Linked DNA regions of Homo sapiens: region 1 is linked to region 2. Evidence: promoter capture Hi-C in 16 types of primary human blood cells and fetal thymus (Javierre and others, 2016). All regions are on one chromosome and are shown on one strand. Each heading gives the region's core, a stretch centred on a gene start or on the middle of the fragment in contact. The rest is flanking DNA. Distances are from core to core; before and after follow the strand shown. Region 1 overlaps CNOT3 (CCR4-NOT transcription complex subunit 3). Region 2 holds the start of LILRB2 (leukocyte immunoglobulin like receptor B2).

The links. Contacts are between HindIII fragments. The CHiCAGO score rates a contact against its expected background, and 5 or more counts as called.
Region 1: a fragment that was not itself captured here is called in contact with the fragment with the promoter of LILRB2 in region 2 in 1 of 17 cell types (neutrophils); the score reaches 5.9 in neutrophils.

What each region holds. Positions count from the first base shown.
Region 1 is chr19:54,144,782-54,148,361 of GRCh38, reverse strand. It overlaps CNOT3 (CCR4-NOT transcription complex subunit 3), which reads right to left. Exons shown (of 18, transcript NM_014516.4): 8 at 2,545-2,764; 9 at 2,319-2,452; 10 at 1,705-1,761; 11 at 1-214. It overlaps LOC102724273 (a long non-coding RNA gene), which reads left to right. Exons shown (of 4, transcript XR_001754001.3): 4 at 1,611-1,783. Among named protein-coding and RNA genes, the nearest start is that of CNOT3, 8.8 kb to the right of the region's middle. The HindIII fragment of the contact is 6,124 bases long and covers 1-3,580 here.
Region 2 is chr19:54,276,313-54,282,611 of GRCh38, reverse strand. LILRB2 (leukocyte immunoglobulin like receptor B2) reads left to right here and starts at 1,502. Exons shown (of 14, transcript NM_001080978.4): 1 at 1,502-1,651; 2 at 2,068-2,149; 3 at 2,313-2,348; 4 at 2,537-2,821; 5 at 2,965-3,267; 6 at 3,504-3,800; 7 at 4,050-4,352; 8 at 4,673-4,723; 9 at 5,015-5,062; 10 at 5,683-5,805; 11 at 6,156-6,231. The coding sequence starts at 2,116. MIR4752 (microRNA 4752) reads right to left here and starts at 503; the gene lies at 432-503. RefSeq lists an enhancer at 2,389-3,588. The HindIII fragment of the contact is 13,229 bases long and covers 417-6,299 here.

The sequences.
Region 1 (3,580 bases), core at 1-2,500, 130 kb after region 2:
GAGCAGGGGTGCCCGAGTTGTGGCTGGGAGCTGGACTGGCCTTGGGGCCCAGGGCACTTGGGGGTGCTGCGGGGGCGGGGACCCCATTGTTGCCAGGAGTGGTGCTCAAGGCAGAGGCAGCAGGCGGGGGGCCGGAGGGGTAGGTGGGCGGCACAGCTGGGGACTGAGGGTGCTGGTTGCTGTGGACAGGCTTGGAGCCGTTTTTGGCTGGAGACTGCGGGTGGGAGAGAGCAGAGGGTCAGGACCCAGTGGGCCAGCTGGTCTCCCTCACCACCCCCACCTCAGGCTCCATCTTTGTCCCAGCAGCCTCCTCTCTGGCCTCGCTGCCCCCACCTGCTCCTGCCCTCTTGGGGACCTGGGTGACCTTACTCACCCTCATGGCTTCAATCACCTTCATGCTTAAAACACTCACACTGATTTCCAGCCTGCCCAGCTTCCCAAGTCCTGCCTGGACACCGCCCCATGGACACCCCCACAGGGATCTGACACACAACTTAGGTTGTCAGCCAGAGAAGATCCATCTGTTGGAAGCCAGAGGACTAGTGGGAAACACTTAAGTGTTCTCAATATGAGATTAGCTGGAGCCGCCTAATGTCCAAGAGTAGAAGGAAAAACAGCTGGAAATTGGATAGTAATTCTGAATGTCACCTGAAGGGTCACAGAAGCTACTCACAGGGCTGGAAGTTACCAGCACTCCAGAAAGTGGTGGGAGGGTAAATGTGCTCATGGTATCCCTACCGCAGGCAATCTGCGGACAGCACTCGGGCTGCTGAGCCTAACCACCTCCTGGGCTTCTTTCCAGCCACCCCACAGGCACCTTGCGCTTACCAAGCGCCCAACAGGACTGACTACCCACTTCTCTCCTGGGCATCGCTGCTTGGCAGTGGGGGCCTGGGAAGGTGGCAGAGCCCAGCCTGGCCCCTGGAGTACCTGCCTCAGTGTCTCTCCTCATCACCTCCTGGCCCTGTTGCCCGCCCTCACTACTACCTGCGGGTCCCCTTAGTCTCCACACCAGCCTCCTCAATGCCCACTCAGGGTGTCCCCTTGGAACCATCCATCCCGTTAGCCCACAGAGGGGCCTCAGGCCCATGCTGCTCCTGCCTAACATTGTTCTGTAGCAGCGTTTCCGAAAGCGTGCTCCTGTCCTGGGAGATGTCAAAGGAGTTGAAGAAGCACTGCCCGCCACCGTCTCCTCTCAGAAATTTGCAGTGTGTATTATCAGCACAGCAAAGGCCCCATCGCTTCCTAGGCTTATTGGACTCTGGAGGCCACTCAGGTCCACAAAGCCTGAGCCCCTCAGCCTGACAGTCCCAGTCCCTGTGCTCACAGTTGGGCCCCTGGCCCTGCAGACCTGGCCAGACTCATCTCTCCTCACTTCCAAACTTTCTGTCACAACTTGCCCATGTTACTGGCTGCCACCTCTCCCTGCCAGGCAAACTCACCTGACTGTGAAGCCCAGGGCACTCCACAGCAGCATCTCCTGACTGCCTGGCCAGGCCAAGGGTGACCTGTGTGCTACCCCCTTGACCACAGCACCAGTCACCTGTCCACTTGCCCTGCCCACCTGCCCTCAGGGCAGCACTGATTTCTGAGCCACCTGTGTCCACCAGCCCAGCACAGTGGCCGGCGCTCAGGCCTCAAGATGCCTTTGGGAAGCAACAGAGGAGTGAATGGCGTGCCCACCCGGTCCAGGCTCACACCCACCTGGCTGACTTCACTGTCTGTGGAACGTCCCCTCTTCTTATCATCTTCAGAGTTTTCCTGAGGTAGGGGAGGCAGAATAGAAACCTGTGTGACCTCTGGGGCTCTGATGGAGAACCGCCAATCTCTGAATGCCCCGGGGACCTGGGCCCAATTGACTGCCATTGCGGCCCCAGAGCTGGTCAAATGGCTGTCCTTAATCTGCCTGGAGAAACCATCTCAATTCAGGCTCTCCAGTCTTCTTGTTTTCTGGGAGCCAGCACTGACCCACCAGCCTCTTAAGGATCTGGGAACCTGCTCTCCACAGGGAAGCCAACCCTTGGATCCCTGCCCAAGGTGGCCAGCTACCCAGCCTCCTCAGGCAGCCCAGGCACCGGCCCCTCCCACTTCCCAGATCCAGGACCTAAACTGGCGCGGGATGCACCCTATTGCTCTTTATGTCCTTTAGGGACCCAGATATAGGACCTTAGCGTGTGCTCCAAGAGCCTAGACCCTGGATACCTAGATCTGTGTTTCCTCAATTACGCTCCCATAGCCACTTTGGAGTGACCCAGATTTGTCTCCTCGAGTCCTGCCCTGCTGGAAACACAAGGTACTAGTGTCCCGTGGGGCCTCACCGTGGTACAGTTGGCTGGGCTGGGCGGGATGGGAGAGCTGGAGGTGGTTGAGGTGGGCGTGCTGCTGGACTGGTTGAAGATCTCATCCTCCATGTGGCTGTGGCTGGGGGGGGAGGTGGCGACCAGCGCCTGTGCTGTGGGGGCAGAAGAAGGGCATGCTTAGCTGGCTCACACAGCCCATTCTGGGCCCTCACTTCCTGTGCCACGATCAGCCCCAGGGCCTCACGAATGTCCTCGAGGTCCAGGTCATCGTAGAGAAACTCGTTCTCCTCGAAGTCGGGGTCCTGGGATGAGTCAACATAGTACTCAACGTCGTCCTTGATCTTGCGGATGGCGTCAACGAGGATGGAGTCATTGTCCAGCATGCGCAGGATGGTCTCTAGCATGCGCACGTGGTAGCGGTGCTTCTCGATGTGCCGCTTCAAGCCCTCAATCCGGTCCTGCTTCTGCTGGCGAGCCCAGGGCCAGGCTCAGGGGCTGCAGAGCACCTGCTTGGCCCCTCCTGCCCCCACAGAACCTGTCCTCAGTCCCTGACCCCTGTGGAGACCCAAAGCCTCCACGCCATCCCCTTCGGGGTGGGGCAGTATGGGGTCCACCCACCCTCTGAGCCCTGTGGGGACCAATCTTAGCCTTGACATCTTGGGATCCCACTGCTCCCTCCTCTCCCCACACCTTTCTGGCTCCAGGAGTCCTTGGAAACCTCTAAAAGACCCAGAGGTCCTTGTGCCATCCCACGACTTGGCCTCCATCTGCACCTCACCTGACAGCCCAGATTTCTCAACTGAGCCCGCCCACCACTGTGACTGCCTCTGGCATACAGATACCCTCCGACCTGCTCCAGCAGTAACAATGATAACCCCCATTTGTGAGGAGCTTGCTGTTTAGAATTGTGATATCTGTCATCACTAGGCCCCCAACCCTACCCATTTATCCCTGAGAGAGCCCAGATTCCTAAGCCTCGCTCCTGCCCTCCCCTCAAGGCCCCTTTAGGATTTAACATCTTAGCCTTGGTTCCAAATCTCTGCTCTGTTCAAGGACCCATCATCTCCCCGAAAGCCCCTGGTTCCCAAACCCCTCAGAGTCTGACACCCAACCCTGTCATCTTCCACTTCCTGACCCTCTCCCACCCACAGCTTCCCTGAGGACCCGGCTCTCCCCTCCCTGTCTTTCTGGTTTCAGCAAGTCTGTACAGTTTGTATCCCTTTGAACTCATACCCCACAATCCCGGATTTTAGAACCTGGGACCCCAACATCCAGCTTTG
Region 2 (6,299 bases), core at 253-2,752:
AAAACCAGCATATATCACAACATCACACTTCCCTCTCTGGACACACTGTGGCTTGCCATGCCATGCACTCCATATTGTAATCCTTGCTTCTCACTCCCAAATAAACTCAAAATCCAGGCAACCCTGGAGCAATGCAGCCTTGAATTCCAGGGGTCTCTTATATGCACACTTTTTCCAAACAAACGGGGATCAAAACTATAGCATTTGTGAGAAACAAGACTTGCGTATATGAACGGCAGACTTTTCCTATATGCAGACCCAGCAGAGACAACGTCAGGGCTGGAGTACGAGCAAGTGTTGGTACATGTAGGGGGTACTGAAACGAATTGCCTGTGTATCCCAAGAAACAACTGTACTGAGAGATCATATTTTCTAGGGGTTTATTTTTGGTTTTGTTTTTATTTTAGGTTAAAGCTTTGGATAGAATACCCAGTGTCTCCTTGTCCATCTGAAGAACATGCTGCTATGTGGAAGCACATCCTTGAGATCCACAAGGAGACACTGGGCAAGAAGACAAGGATGCCCCACTGTGCAGAGGTCCCCCTAATAAATGCTCTATGAACACCCTGGTGTTTAGTGCTTCTTTCCTTGGAATTCCAGCAGGTCTGGACAGTTTGGTGCACTCCCTTGAGGGAATTCCCCTGGGCTGCTTGGGGTCCACTCCAGCCTCAGGTGTAGCTAGAGGACGCAGCCTCCCACCTTGGTCTGGAGCCCTGAGCCCCTCACTGTCATTGCAGATCCCGGGGTTCCTCTCCCGGCTCCACTCAGTGGTGGAAACCTCCACCCTAATGAGCCCTTGATGGTCCCGGGACCCTGTGGCATCTCACCTCTGGCCTCTGTTCTTTCTTGTGAGTCCGTCTACACTTGGGGTTTCCACATGTCTTTTTCTGCTCATGACCTTGATACTCTGGGTATTTCAGAAATGCTACACATACGTTTCTCCATTACGGTCAGATGTGACATCTTGAGTGGACTCATCAATCACCTACAGAATGTGGAGTCCAACAGCAAGATCCTCTCACGTCCCAAAGCCTCAGGTCTTACCCTGGTCTGGAAATCAAGCACAAATGAGCCCCTCCCAATGTCCCAGGCACCACTGACCCCACAACCACTGTGACGAGTGGGATTCATGACAACAATCTGCAAAGGAAGAAACTGAGGCTCAGTGATGGGACATTACAAACCAAGGTCACGTAGGCAGCGGATGATAACCAGTCATCAAATAAATATCAACTCCCTCCCCCACTCCCCAAATCAAAGCTCAAACATAAGTCATTGTTCCCAAAATGTTGACCAGGAATTGAGGTGCAGAGGGACGGCTAAGGACGCAATGGGCACCGAGGAGGCAGGAAAGACTCAGAGGTTTCTTCCCGGGGGGGAGGGAGTGGACGCTGGAGCAAAAACATTTAAAAAGGGGAAGTTAAGAGGGGACTATTTGGTTGAAAGAAAACCCACAATCCAGTGTCAAGAAAGAAGTCAACTTTTCTTCCCCTACTTCCCTGCATTTCTCCTCTGTGCTCACTGCCACACACAGCTCAACCTGGACAGCACAGCCAGAGGCGAGATGCTTCTCTGCTGATCTGAGTCTGCCTGCAGCATGGACCTGGGTCTTCCCTGAAGCATCTCCAGGGCTGGAGGGACGACTGCCATGGTAAGGACCCCACAACGCTGTGCTGATGGATGGGCTGAAGGAGGGAGGGTGACCATGTGGGAAGCTGTGAGAAGGAAGGGGAAGCCACTGCTACCCTCATCAGGAAGGGCAGACACAAGAAGCACCAGTTCTATTTGCTGCTACATCCCGGCTCTCGGTGAGACGAGGAGAAACCAGACAGACAGTGGCTGGGGGTCAGGAAAGACCCCATTACAGTCTGAAATGTCTGCAGAGGGCCCAGTGCCTGCCCCCACCTCAGCTCTAAAAGAATGAGAGTCAGGCTCCTGGGAGGGCAGTTCCGCTTCTTGTGTGGCTGCAGATGACAACACCCCATGAGAAGGACCCAGCCTCTGAGTGTCCACACAGGGTGGGAAGGAGGGGAGGCTATTTCTCTCTGTGTGTCTCTGTCCCGCCAGCACCGAGGGCTCATCCATCCGCAGAGCAGGGCAGTGGGAGGAGACGCCATGACCCCCATCGTCACAGTCCTGATCTGTCTCGGTGAGATTTGAAGAGAGAGGGGAGCTTCTAACCTAGGAGGGACCTCACCCCACAGCCAAACTCTGGTCCCTAAGGAGACCCCAGGGGCTCACAAAGATCCCAGGGAGGGGAGGACCTGCTCAGGCTTCAGGGGGCAAATCCCTCACAGGGAACTCTCTTCCAGGGCTGAGTCTGGGCCCCAGGACCCGCGTGCAGACAGGTGAGTCTGTCCCCAGCTCTCCCAGGTCCCTCCTCCTCACTGGGGACAAGGGGCCACCTCCGTGCAGCTGGGGATGGGGATTAGAAGTTCTGGACTGACTGATGGGGGCATCTGGAGGGTCCTGGGCTGAGAGCTGAGATCTGTTGGGTGGGAAATGACTTCGAATCTGACCTTTGATTTCCTTCCAGGGACCATCCCCAAGCCCACCCTGTGGGCTGAGCCAGACTCTGTGATCACCCAGGGGAGTCCCGTCACCCTCAGTTGTCAGGGGAGCCTTGAAGCCCAGGAGTACCGTCTATATAGGGAGAAAAAATCAGCATCTTGGATTACACGGATACGACCAGAGCTTGTGAAGAACGGCCAGTTCCACATCCCATCCATCACCTGGGAACACACAGGGCGATATGGCTGTCAGTATTACAGCCGCGCTCGGTGGTCTGAGCTCAGTGACCCCCTGGTGCTGGTGATGACAGGTGAGAGGACACTCAGGGATCCCAGCCCCAGGCTCTGCCCTCAGGAAGGAGGCTCTCAGGGGTGTCTCCCTCTCACAGCCCAGCCCTGGGGATGATGTGGGAGGTGGGAGCCCCATTTAACACGATGCCTCCTTCTCTCCTAGGAGCCTACCCAAAACCCACCCTCTCAGCCCAGCCCAGCCCTGTGGTGACCTCAGGAGGAAGGGTGACCCTCCAGTGTGAGTCACAGGTGGCATTTGGCGGCTTCATTCTGTGTAAGGAAGGAGAAGATGAACACCCACAATGCCTGAACTCCCAGCCCCATGCCCGTGGGTCGTCCCGCGCCATCTTCTCCGTGGGCCCCGTGAGCCCGAATCGCAGGTGGTCGCACAGGTGCTATGGTTATGACTTGAACTCTCCCTATGTGTGGTCTTCACCCAGTGATCTCCTGGAGCTCCTGGTCCCAGGTGAGAAATTCACAGCATTGTCTGGAGTTCCCTGAGTCTCCCTGAGTCTCCAGGCAGGTGGGGAGCAGCCGTGTCTCAGGGCAGTTCCAGGTGGGATGATGTTGGGGCGAGAGGGCTCAGGGGTCCTGGGGCCAGAGACACAGGAAGATCAGCAGTGGTGAGGCACCGGGGGAGAGGGAGGGTTTGTGGGGAAGCCTGAGGGTCGGCTCCTGGAAACCATGAGCACCTTTTCCCAGGTGTTTCTAAGAAGCCATCACTCTCAGTGCAGCCGGGTCCTGTCATGGCCCCTGGGGAAAGCCTGACCCTCCAGTGTGTCTCTGATGTCGGCTATGACAGATTTGTTCTGTACAAGGAGGGGGAACGTGACCTTCGCCAGCTCCCTGGCCGGCAGCCCCAGGCTGGGCTCTCCCAGGCCAACTTCACCCTGGGCCCTGTGAGCCGCTCCTACGGGGGCCAGTACAGATGCTACGGTGCACACAACCTCTCCTCTGAGTGCTCGGCCCCCAGCGACCCCCTGGACATCCTGATCACAGGTGAGGAGCCCAGCGGGTTCAGTCAGGGACCCAGACTCTGCACAGGCCCTGCCGGGGGAATCCAATTAGTGATGGCCAGGATGAGGCGGGGGGTGGTCCCAAGGGAGGGAGAGACAGAGAGAGAGACAGGGGATGGGTGGGGAGGGGAAGACTCAGAGAAAACAGAGACAGAGGCTCCTAGAGAGGCCTGGGGAGGTCTCAGCTCAGAGCAAGGTGGGGCAGCCCCTCACCCATCCTTCTTCTCTCCAGGACAGATCCGTGGCACACCCTTCATCTCAGTGCAGCCAGGCCCCACAGTGGCCTCAGGAGAGAACGTGACCCTGCTGTGTCAGTCATGGCGGCAGTTCCACACTTTCCTTCTGACCAAGGCGGGAGCAGCTGATGCCCCACTCCGTCTAAGATCAATACACGAATATCCTAAGTACCAGGCTGAATTCCCCATGAGTCCTGTGACCTCAGCCCACGCGGGGACCTACAGGTGCTACGGCTCACTCAACTCCGACCCCTACCTGCTGTCTCACCCCAGTGAGCCCCTGGAGCTCGTGGTCTCAGGTGGGGGCCTTGACCCTGTCCTCTCTGAGCTCAAAGGCTCAGCTCAGGCCCTGCCCCCCAGGAGAGCTCTGGGCTGGGATGGAGTGAGCGGGGGTCTGAGCGGGGCTCAGCCAGTGGGAGACTCACCCTCAGAGGGAAGGAGGACAACAGGCCCTCCCAGGCCTGCGCACACTCAGCGGCATCGCCAGCATCATGGACAGGAGAGGCGGGTGGAGGGAGGGGCCTGGGGAGGCCACAGGGCCCATGTAGAGAAATTTGGTTTGAGGTGGAGACTTCAGGAAAGCCCCAGCTCCTCACCCTCCTCTCATTCTTTCACCCAGGACCCTCCATGGGTTCCAGCCCCCCACCCACCGGTCCCATCTCCACACCTGGTGAGTCCCTGAGGCCTCTGGCTCGAAGGGAGCGCAGCGACCCCCAGGGCAGCTTTGAGTGTCCAGGAGGATCCCATTCCCTTCAGGGACTCAATCAAGGGCTTCTGTCCAGGGAGCTGGGCAGAGCCAGAGGAGGGGCCACAGGGTCCCCAGGGCTCTGAGGCTGGGCTGGTGAGGGGTGGGGGGTCAAGGCAGAGAGAAATGTTGGGGCCCAGCCTGGGGGAGGAGCAGCCGGGCTGATGTGGGGAGCAGGGCAGCCCCAGCCCTCACCTCCCCGTCCTGACCCAGCAGGCCCTGAGGACCAGCCCCTCACCCCCACTGGGTCGGATCCCCAAAGTGGTGAGTGAGGGGCTCTGAGTGGGAGGTGGGCGGGGTCCCGGGGAGGCAGGGGTGGGTTCTGTCCTAGGTTCAGGCTCCTCTGGAGGTGGTGATGTAGACAGGCTCCTCCCCTGCCTGGGCCTCAGTTTCTCCAAGTGTAAAGGAGAGAGGCCTGCAGGTGGGAAAGTTCCTTTCAGCTCTCACTCCCAGCTGTGACCTCCTGGGAGAGGAGGCCCCTCAGGGAAGACTCCAAGACTCGATTCCGCGGGGGCCTGTCCCGTCCCACCTGCAGCAGAGACGGTGACCTGGGGCAGGGGAGGGGAGCAGAGTCGTGGTTCAGGACGGTAAGGCTCTTTCCCTGCAGCTCCGGGGCTCGGCTCTGGTGCAGGAACAAGGGCTGCAGGTCAGACTCCCAGGCTCCCTTCCCAGCTCTGCCGCTTCCTGGCTGGGGGCCCGGGGCAGGCGATTCCCCTCTCTGAGCGTCAGTTTTTCATCTGTAGAGTGGGTGGGGTGGATGTTTGTGTGCTGCACGACTGTTGTGGGGGTTGGAGGTGGTGAACAGAAGGTCCAGCAGTCACCTGCACACAGTAGGCGCTCATTTCAATGACATCACCCCCATCCCTGACATCATCGTGCTCAAGGTCTGGGAAGGCACCTGGGGGTTGTGATCGGCATCTTGGTGGCCGTCGTCCTACTGCTCCTCCTCCTCCTCCTCCTCTTCCTCATCCTCCGACATCGACGTCAGGGCAAACACTGGACATCGAGTGAGTAGGGAAGGGGAAACCCTGTGGGCCGACCGAGGGTGGGCTCAGGGCACAGCCAAAGAGAATCCAAACCACTGGGCAAATGCAGCTTTGAGAAACTGTTCCAGCATTTCTCACCAGGTGAATGGAGAAAGCACTTAACGTCAGTCCCATCTACAAATATAAAGTGTCCTCCGGGCTCAGTCCCATCTACAAATGTAAAGTGTCCTTCGGACTCTGTCCATCTCATGAGGCATTTGGAACATGGAGGCAGGAGTGTTTTTAGGTTTCCTTCCTTACCTTCGAGCTGTGTGTGCAGGGCAGGGGGCTCCAATGTTCCCAGGGCTGAGGCTCTGTCCTTCTTCCCCCAGCCCAGAGAAAGGCTGATTTCCAACATCCTGCAGGGGCTGTGGGGCCAGAGCCCACAGACAGAGGCCTGCAGTGGAGGTAATTCTGCCCGAAGACCCCAGACTCCCACCTGCTCGTGGCCCATACACTGCCCCTAAAGCTCCCAT